2 separate regions of the Homo sapiens genome follow, and region 1 is linked to region 2. Evidence: promoter capture Hi-C in 16 types of primary human blood cells and fetal thymus (Javierre and others, 2016). All regions are on one chromosome and are shown on one strand. The core of a region is centred on a gene start or on the middle of the fragment in contact, and the rest is flanking DNA. Distances in the headings are between cores, read along the strand shown.

Evidence for each region. Contacts are between HindIII fragments. The CHiCAGO score rates a contact against its expected background, and 5 or more counts as called.
Region 1: a contact is called between a fragment that was not itself captured here and the fragment with the promoter of CMTM3 in region 2, in 2 of 17 cell types (total B cells and total CD8 T cells). The highest score is 5.2, in total B cells.

Annotation. Positions count from the first base shown.
Region 1 is chr16:66,451,222-66,456,025 of GRCh38, reverse strand. All of the region lies in intron 2 of BEAN1 (brain expressed associated with NEDD4 1), which reads right to left. It also overlaps the pseudogene LOC107984807. Among named protein-coding and RNA genes, the nearest start is that of BEAN1-AS1, 23 kb to the left of the region's middle. The HindIII fragment of the contact is 2,383 bases long and covers 449-2,831 here.
Region 2 is chr16:66,602,785-66,607,511 of GRCh38, reverse strand. It overlaps CMTM3 (CKLF like MARVEL transmembrane domain containing 3), which reads right to left and starts at 2,808. Exons shown (of 5, transcript NM_181553.4): 1 at 2,560-2,808. The coding sequence starts at 2,706. It also overlaps a transcript of CMTM4 not described here. RefSeq lists silencers at 1,804-2,023, 2,084-2,923. The HindIII fragment of the contact is 16,414 bases long and covers 1-4,727 here.

The sequences.
Region 1 (4,804 bases), core at 391-2,890, 150 kb after region 2:
CTGTGTTGAGGGGACTAGCTTAAGAAGTAGCTTTATCACAGCCAGGAGCAGTGGCTCACACCTGTAATCCCGGCACATCGGGAGCCTGAGGTGGGCGGATTGCTTGAGCGCAGGAGCTCAAGACCACCCTGGGCAATATGGTGAAATCCTGACTCTTAAAAAAATACCAAAATTAGTTGGGCATGGTGGCGTGTGCCTGTAGTCCCAGCTAATTGGGAGGCTGAGGTGGGAGGATCACTTGAACTTGGGAGGTCAAGGCTGTGGTAAACTGTGATTGCACTACTGCACTTCAGCTTGGGCAATAGAATAAGACTCTGTTTCAAAAAAAAAAAAAAAAGTAGCTTTATTATAAGCGTGTTGCTGCAGGTATTGTCCACTATACCTCTCAGTATCCCTAGGTAAGGCTCATGTAATAAATTTCTCCAAGATATGAGGGCCAGGGAAAGCTTTTCTTTCTCCAAAAGAGCTACTTTCTCCTCATAGACCATGAGAATCATGTAACTGATCCACTTTGCTGTTTTGCTTTGGCCTCCAGGAAGCTCAGGGACACTCTGTAGCTCAACTTCAAAAGGAAAGGAAATCATTCCTTCTTTGGCTCTCTGGTGCTAGTTAGCATCATTCAACACAGCCAATTTACAAATTCCCTCTGTGATTCAGATTTGGGAGAATGAGCCAACTTATGGTATGTGCAGGTCACCATTACATTACTTGCTGTTGTAGCTGTGAATAATCATCCTGATTTGGGGGTGTTACTTGCATTGCTCTAAAAGCTACTGGGAGAGGATGTACCCAGAAGTGGTAAATGCAGTGTTTAAGAGCCTGGCTTAGTGACACTGACCAGGGTATTTAATACTTACGTACCTTAGCTTCCTCATCTGTAAAAGAGTAATGACCACTCAGAGTGTTTCTGTGAGGATTAAGGGAGATAATTTAGCAGTCCATACATGCAACTATAAAGCTAGACAAAACTGTCAAAGTACCATTGCAGTTCCTGGAAATTGATCAAAGGCATACAACGAACTGAGAAGCACTTAGTATGAAAAAGACTGAATGTCAGGTAAGCACAGTGTGAACCTGTAATGTTCTTGCCTATGACTGCCTCCATACCCCTCCCCACCAGCTCTGCTCCCCAGTCTGTGAAAACCAGCAGCTTCCCTGCTACTGTTGGAAAGAGCCCATCCAAATGGATCACACTTTCTTGTTTCTTTGTCTTATAAAGTATGATCCATATTCAGGAAAAAATAAAAATAACAAAATAAAAAACCAAACCCAAAGCAAAAAAAAAAAAAAAAAAAAGAAAGAAAGAAAAGGAAGATGTATGCATGGATTAATAACTCCACTTAAAGGGCAGAGATTGTCAGAGTAAATAAAAAGACAAGACCTACCTGTATGCTGACTGCAAGAAACACACCTGATTCAAAGACACAAATAGTTTGAAAATAAAAGGATGGAAGGAGATATAGCATACAAACAGCTTGAGTGGTTATGCTGATATCAGGCAAAATAGACTTTAAGGCAAGATATATATTTCTAGAGACAAAGACATTTCATAATGACAAAAAAGTCAACATATTAGGAAGATATAAAAACTATATATGTATTATATATGCACTTAACAAGTCCCCCAAAACATGAAGTAAAAACTGGGAGAATTGAAAGAAGATATAGATAATTCAACAATAATAGTGGAGATTTTAATGTCCCAATCTCAATAACTGACAAAGCAATTAGAAACTCAGCCAGGATACAGAAGACTTGAATGACGCTATCAACCAGTGTGACATTCATAGAAGCCTTCACCAACTGAAGATTACGCATTCTTTTCAAGTGCACATGAGACATTCTCCAGGATAGACCACATATGGGCCATAAAACAAGTCTCAATAGATTTAAAAAGATTTAAATCATACAAAATATGTTCTCTGACCACAATGGAATTAGAGATCCAAAATAGAAAACTATCCGGGAAAACCCCAACTACTTAGAAATTAGGCCGGGCGTGGTGGGCTCACGCCTGGAATCCCAGCACTTTGGGAGGCTGAGGCAGGAGGATCATTTGAGGTCAGGAGTTTGAGACCACCCTGGCCAACATGGCAAAACCCTGTCTCTACTAAAAATACAAAAATTAGCCAGGTGTGGTGGCATGTGCTTGTAATCCCAGCTACTTGGGAGGTTGAGGCAGGAGAATCATTTGAACCTGGAAGACAGAGGTTGCAATGAGCTGAGATTGTGCCACTGCACTCCAGCCTGGGCAACAGAGCAAGACTCTGTCCCCCTGACCCAAAAAAAAAAAATTAAACTACATGCTTCTAAATAATCTATAGGTCAAAGAAGAAATCACAATAAAAATAAAAATATATTTTAGGCTAGGCACTGTGGCTCATGCCTGTAATCCCAACACTTTGGGAGGTCAAGGTGGGAGGATTGCCTTAGCCCAGGAGTTTGACACCAGCTTGGGCAACATAGTGAGATCCTGTATATACAAAAAAATAATAAAAAGTTAGCCGGGTATGGTGGTGCATGCCTATAGTCCCAGCTACTTGGGAGGCTGAAGTGGGAGGACTGCTTGAGCCCAGGAGTTCAAGGTTACAGTGAGCTATGATTGCACCACTGCACTCCAGCCTTTTGAAGCCTTTGTCTTCAGAAAACAAAACAATGTGTGTGTGTGTGTGTGTGTGTGTGTATAACAGAATGAAAAAAAACACAACATAGTATCAAAATTTATGGAATTCAGCTAAAGCAATGCTTAGTGGGAAATTCATAGCTTTAAATACTTATATTAGAAAAGAAGAAAGGAAAAGAAGAAAGGCCTCGACTTGAAAACCTAAGCTTTCATGTTAAGAAACTAGAAAAAGAGTAAACAAAACCCAAAGCAAGTAGAGGAAGGAAATAATAAAGATGAGAGCAGAAATCAACGAACTAGAAAACAGAAAAGCAACACAGAATATCAATGAAACCAAAAGTTGTTTTTTTGAAAAGATAAAATTTACAAATCTTAGCAGCTTTATGAGGTAGGTGCTAGTAATCTGATTTAATAGATGAGGGTACTGAGGCTCAGGAAGGTGAAGTGACTTGCCCAAGATCGCAAAGACAATTTTTAGTTGGGGGGAGGGAGACAGGATTTGAACCTGGTTCTGACTCCATAGACCAGGGAATAATATGATATCCTCTCTCCATCCTGGGGAGCTGTGTGTCCCTTCGTTACTCTGGGGCCGTACAGTTGGGCATTGGGGTAAGTGAGTCTGCCACGTGAGGTGCCATGAGGATTGGGAAACCCAGCTATGAAGCAAACCATCTCTAAACCCCATCCTCCTTTTCTCTACACTCTGGAATGTCTGTCCTGCAAAAAGCGTCTAGAAATTTCCCCAATAAACACTCACCTGACAACGCACTCAGATTCCTGGTCTCCCCACAGATCCCTTCGCCAAACACCCATGAGGGATTCTGGTGCCACCTGACCTCTGTAAATGTCACACTGGATGGGCATGCTTTTGCCAACTCCTTTAGGCCTTTCTGGTGGGACAGCAATTATGGCTCCTTCACTGTTCACCATGCTGCCCAGGCCCAAAGCCAGAGGCCTACAAAAGGCATGGCCCTGTGGTTTTCGATTCTGGAGCACATTAAAGGTGATAGGATTTTGTCCTCTGATCCTCAGAGATTCCTTCATTTCCCAGAATTTACAAGGGCATTTGGAAAACCAGCATCAGGGTAGCAGTGTATTAAAATTAGTATACTAGGGCTTATTCCAGAAATGCAAGGATGATTTAAGATCAGGAAATCTATTAGCATAGTATGTTACTTCAGTAGGCAGGACGAGAGAAACCAGTAGAATAGGAAAAGACAGTTACCTCTTTGCCATGATAGATCCTGATGATCTCAACTGACTGCCAACATCACACTAAACCATGGAGCTTTGGAGTAGTTTCCCAGCATGAGGTTCATGGCATGTGGATTCCAAAAAACATTATGGGGCATTTGGGGAGAAGTTCTTTATCCCCCACTCCCCATCAGATTGCTTTGCAGGCCTGAGCTATTTTGAGAATCAAACCAGTCCCAGTCCCAGGCCTTGTGTTCACCAACGTTTAGTATCCTGAGAAGGTAAGCAGCTCTAGGGTCTCTGGAAAAGGATCATCCTTCAGCCACCTTCCTTGGGCAGCCAAAGTCCCGAGTTCCTTTGCTGGAGCTGACCTGCTTCTTGGACTAGGACAGAACTCTGGTTAAATAAGACACAGACAATCCTGGGTTCAAGTCCTGGCACTGCCTCTTGCTGGCAGTGCCCACTGAGCAAGTCAGATCTCTAAGCCTCTATTGCCTCATCTGTAAAATGGGAGCAGCAATTTCGGCTATGAGCTAATCAAAGCAAACTGCCTAGCAGGATGCCTGGCTCATAATAGGTGCCCAATACATGACAATCAAATATTCAAAATTTAAAGACATTCCCTAGACTCAGAACTAAATGTGAAAGACAAAAGAGTAAAGCTTGAAGTGGAAAACATCAGAGAACATCTTCATGACCTTGCATTTCTTAAACAGGACACAGAAGATACTAACCATTTAAAAATGGATACATTGGACTATATTAAAATAAAAAAACTTTGGTTGGAGTTTGGGTTGCAAAGTGGTGGAGGGCTGAGGGCCTGCACAGGGACTGAGGCATCCAGGGTCAAGGTCAAGGTCATGGCTGGAACAAGTGAAAGATTTTGAAAGAAGATTCTCTAAATATATTCATCATTTGCAACCTGCCCCAGGACACTGGAGAATGTTTCTCATGGAGGGATCTGTCTGTACTGGTGCCTGGGAGTGG
Region 2 (4,727 bases), core at 1,559-4,058:
GTTAAAAGATAAAATGCCTTGATGGACAGATAGATAAAGCAAAAAAATCTTTTGGAGTTTTAATGTATTTGCAAATTTTCATAATGATAAGAAAGGAACATCTAACAGAGGGTGCGTTGGCACTGACACCTCAGGCCCTGCTGCCTTATTCATACAGGGCCAGCTGTGAAAGGTGGGGCCAGCTGTACTTGAACTACAAGAATCAAAATGTTCACTGTGGTCTTGCCCACAACTCTGTAGGTGGGAAGAGCTGATGCAGGAGGATGTTGAGCCCTGGGCAGTCCTGCAGCCCAGGTACGCTGCAGAGCAGGCCAAGGTGACCTGTTGGCCAGCCTGGGGCTCCACAGTGCCTGGTACCCTGAGGCTCACGGGCATCTCCTCTGACCCTCACATCCACCCATGAGCACAGCCCCACTTGACAGATGAGAAGACTCTGTCACATGGCTAATCAGAGGCTACTAGAATTTGAACCCAGGGCTGGCTGACCCCCCAGATAGAGTTATCTTACCTCCGCCCCAGAGATGGAGTCTTGCTCCGTCTCCCAGGCTGGAGTGCAGTGGCACGATCTCAGTTCACTGCAACCTCCACCTCCGGGGTTCAAGTGATTCTCCTGCCTCAGCCTTCCCGAGTAGCTGGGATTACAGGCGCCCGCCACCAAACCCAGCTAATTTTTTTATTTTTAGTAGAGACAGGGTTTCACCATGCTGGCCAGGCTGGTCTCGAATTCCTGACCTCAGGTGATCCACCCACCTCGGCCTCCTAAAGTGTTGGGATTACAGGCATGAGCCACCACGCCCGGCCCAGGTAGAGTTCTTAAGCAACTTGGCCCTGTGGGTGTTGGGGAGGCCATCTGTCCCTGGTTTCTGTCACTGTGGCTGCGTTTGAACATGTCTATGGCTGAGTAGTTTCTAGTGGGTGCAGGAGTCCCCATGGGGACACCCAGATGCCCCACAGGAAGCACTGTGGCTGCTTCAGACAAATGAACTGCAGGGATCCCAGGGGGTCCCCAGAGCACCCCCATTTGCTCTGCACATGGCCTTGGGTGCAGCTGAGCCCCCTTTGGAAAGATAGACTAAGGCATAGAGACGGGCTGGGAGGCTGCTGGGGCCTCCCAGGAAGGCCTTCCATGGGACTGACCCAGCTCTGGCCCTCCCCTTCCTGTCTCCTATGCCTGCACCCCAAAGCCTAATTCTGGGGATTCCCCTCTCAATTCCTGTTTTTTCATCCCGCGATTTCTGGGGCCACTTCCTCTCTCTGTTTCTGTCCATCTCAGCCTCTGCACTTGCTTGGCCTGGGGGTGGGAGTGAGGGGACTAGGGAGGCAGGAGTGCCCTCAGCGGCTCCTGTGAACCCTGAGTGCTGACCGTTCACCCTTCCTTATCCTCCCTGACCTGGATTCCTGACATCTGCTGGGCCCAGGGTGGCCTCTATGCTCCTGCTGGACATATGCCTCCCTCTTATGAGGTGGTCTTGGGTGGGGATGGGGGGGTTCAAGCCACTCTGGGGACGGTGGATTCGAGGCTTCTCCCCTCAAGTGGCTCCCAGTGGTCTCCAGGGTGGGGCTGGGAGTGTGGGCTCGGAGTGTGGCATTGGTGTCTCACTTGGGCGTTGGGCAGGTGGCCTCTGGGCTGACCGTGGGAGAGGCTGCAGGACCACCTTCTGCCCTCTGCCCTGAGTGACCAGGGAGAGGTCCCGGAGCAGAATCCCCCTTCCTCCTGCCCCCACCCTCCTGGCCGCTCTCACTGGGCCCCTCAGTTGAGCCACCTGTCAAATCAGGCGCCTGAGCGCTCTCATCTGTAAAGTGGGGACAAGGGCAGGAAGCGCCAAGTTCCTGGGATCTAAGCAACAAGTGGCCGCCGCCGTGCGCCGCTCTCTCCTCCCGCCTCCCCCGGTCTCCGGCCCGGCCTCTCCCTCCCCATCCCCAACGGCCCAGCGCCACCCCTACCCCACAGCGGACAGTGCGGGCGCCTCCGGTGTCCAGAGGACAAAGAAGCCCCACCGGCCGGGGTGGGGGCGAGGGCGGAGTAGGAAGGAGCCCGGCCGCGGAGGGGAGGAGGGCGATGAAGTCACCGCGGGGCCGCCTCACCCAGTCCCGGGGGTGGGGGATCCCTCCCGCTCCGCACGGCCCCCCGCCGGCTCGGCCCCGCAGGTCGAGGCCCCGGCCCGCACTACCCGCTCGCAGGAAAGCGGACCCCGCTGCGGCCCGGGAGTCCCGGAGGTCCGAGTTGCCCGAGTCCCCGGGGCCCAGAGAGGGCGGGGGCGCCTGGCTCACACAGCAGGACCCACATCCCCGGGCCCCACCCACTTCCCACGGCCCCCAGCTCTGGACTCGCGGGGACAGCGCCGCGGATGGCCTGGGCTCGGGCCCCGCCCCGCCGTCCAAAGTTTGGGGACCTCGACCCAACTTCGCCAGGCGCCCGAGAGAAGTCGGCCGAGGCGGCGCGGAGAGGGGGTATCGGAGCACGGCGGCCGCCCCCGGACCCCACCCGCGCCCCGACGTCCTCCTCCGAAAGGAGCCGCGCAGTCCTAGCGGGGCGGCCGAGGGTCCCGCCGCACTCACCGACTCGGCCAGCAGGAGGCGGCCTTTGAGAGAGCAGAGGAAAGCCCGCGCCGGCAGCAGGGCGCGGAGCCCGGGGACCGCGGGGCCGGGACGGGAGCCGCCGGCAGGCTCGGGGTCCGGGTCGGGGTCGGGGTCTGGGGGCCACATGGCGGCGGCGGCGGTAGGGCCGGGGCTCGGCCTGGCTCCCCTCTTCTCGCGCCCGGAGGGAAGCGGAAACCCGGGCTGTGCGGAAGGAGGGCAGGCGACACTGGCTCGCGCAGGGGCGCATCCCCCGCCGCCACGCCCCGCCCCGCCCCCACCCGCTCCTCCAGCCCGCCCCTCCCCCTCGGACCCCGGCTGCGGGGGATGCTGGGCCCGACCCGCCCCCTCCCCGGCCTGGGGCCTCCGCAGACTCCACCTTCTTCTTCACCCTGGTTCGGGCCGCTGGAGACCTCCCGATCACCGCCCCGGCACCCCTTCGGAGCTCCCACCCGTCTGCCCCTATCCAGAAGGGCTGTCTATACTCGCTGTCTCCGGTCTAACTTCCTGCCCGTGCGCGTGTCTGGGATCCGGGAACCCAGGCGTCTAAACAGCAAAGACCCCGGCCGTGATGTCGGCTCCGCAACCCATGCCCTCTCTTTTTCTTGGGGGCCGGAGTTTTCTTGCGACTTTCTTGGCCACCCCTCCTGTCCCCGGCCAGCCCCACCCTCCTCCAGGGCCTCTTTGTTGGCTGTTCCAGGCCTCGGTCCTGCACCCGCCTCCCCCAACCCATTCTCAGAGGACTCTCAGACCTGCAAGCGCAGCTCCAGGCACACACACAGACACACACACACGCGCGCGCGCGCGCAAACACACACAGGCACGCACATCTGCAGGACTTCCTGACCTGCAGTCCCCCCACCCCAACACATCTCTCTCTCTCACACACACACACACACACACTCCACACGCACATGCGTGCACATCTAGAGAGCGTCTGGAGTTCAGCGTGATCAAGACCCAGCTTCCTGTGCCTCTGCGAAGGGCACTGCCCCCTCCTTTCCTTCCACCTGACTAGCGGAGACCTGCGGGTTGTCCTTGTCCCTCTTCACCGGCAGTCTGTAACCAAGGTCCTCCCACTTTCACCTCCTATAACTTTCTCTGATCTCTGTCTACTTCTCACCACCACTAGATCCGAAACCATTCCTGCCTGCTCCCCGCTGAACTGCTGTGATGGTGTCTTTAAGAGGCCCTTAGGTTTTCTCTCTGGGCAGCCGGGGGAGAGCTTATGGCACAGTACTGCGCACCCTTGACATAACTAACTCCATCTTAGAAAAAGACTTCATTTTATATTTCATAGGGTGCTTTGCCAACAAGGGCAAGATGTTTTGTTTAATAAAAAATAGAAGGTCAGGCGCTGTGGCTCATGCCTGTAATCCCAGCACGTTGGGAGGCTGAGGTGGGTGGATCACGAGGTCAGGAGTTCGAGACCAGCCTGGCCAATATAGTGAAACCCCGTGTCTACTAAAAATACAAAAATTAGCTGGGCGTGGTGGCACCGTGCCTATAATCTCAGCTACTCAGGAGGCTGAGGCACAAGAATCGCTTGAACCCGGGAGGCATAGGTTGCAGTGAGCCAAAATCACACCACTGCACCCCAGCCTGGGCGACAGAGCAAGACTCTGTCTCAAAAAATAAAAAAAAAAATAAATAAAGACTGCGTCCAACCACATAAGGACACAAAGAAGCACACTGTTCCTCTACCATTTCTCACCAGAGCACTCTGTGACTACAAAACAGCAGCCCAGCAGCCTTAACTGACAACCATCCCACTGCCGTTCATAAGAACTCTGCATCTGCCTCCCAAGGCTCTGCCCCTCAAAGACTCTGCAAGACCCTCAAGCCCAGACCAGGATTCCTTTTGTCTTCTTCCTTACCCTGGAACTGGTTCCTTAACCCTTTCTCCTATCTCTTTTTCTCTTGATGTTAAATGCTACTTTGTTTGTTGTGGAATGTTTATAACATTTACATGTGGATTAAGTATACTATTATATATGGTTTGCAATATTGACTGACTTGTGGAGTGGCTTGAGCCCATGTGCTCACTACTGAGTGAACGGGAAGTACTAAGGAAAATTGGCTCCTTGGGTCTGGGTGCAGTGGCCCATGCCTATAATTCCAGCATTTTGGGAGGCTGAGGCAGGCAGATC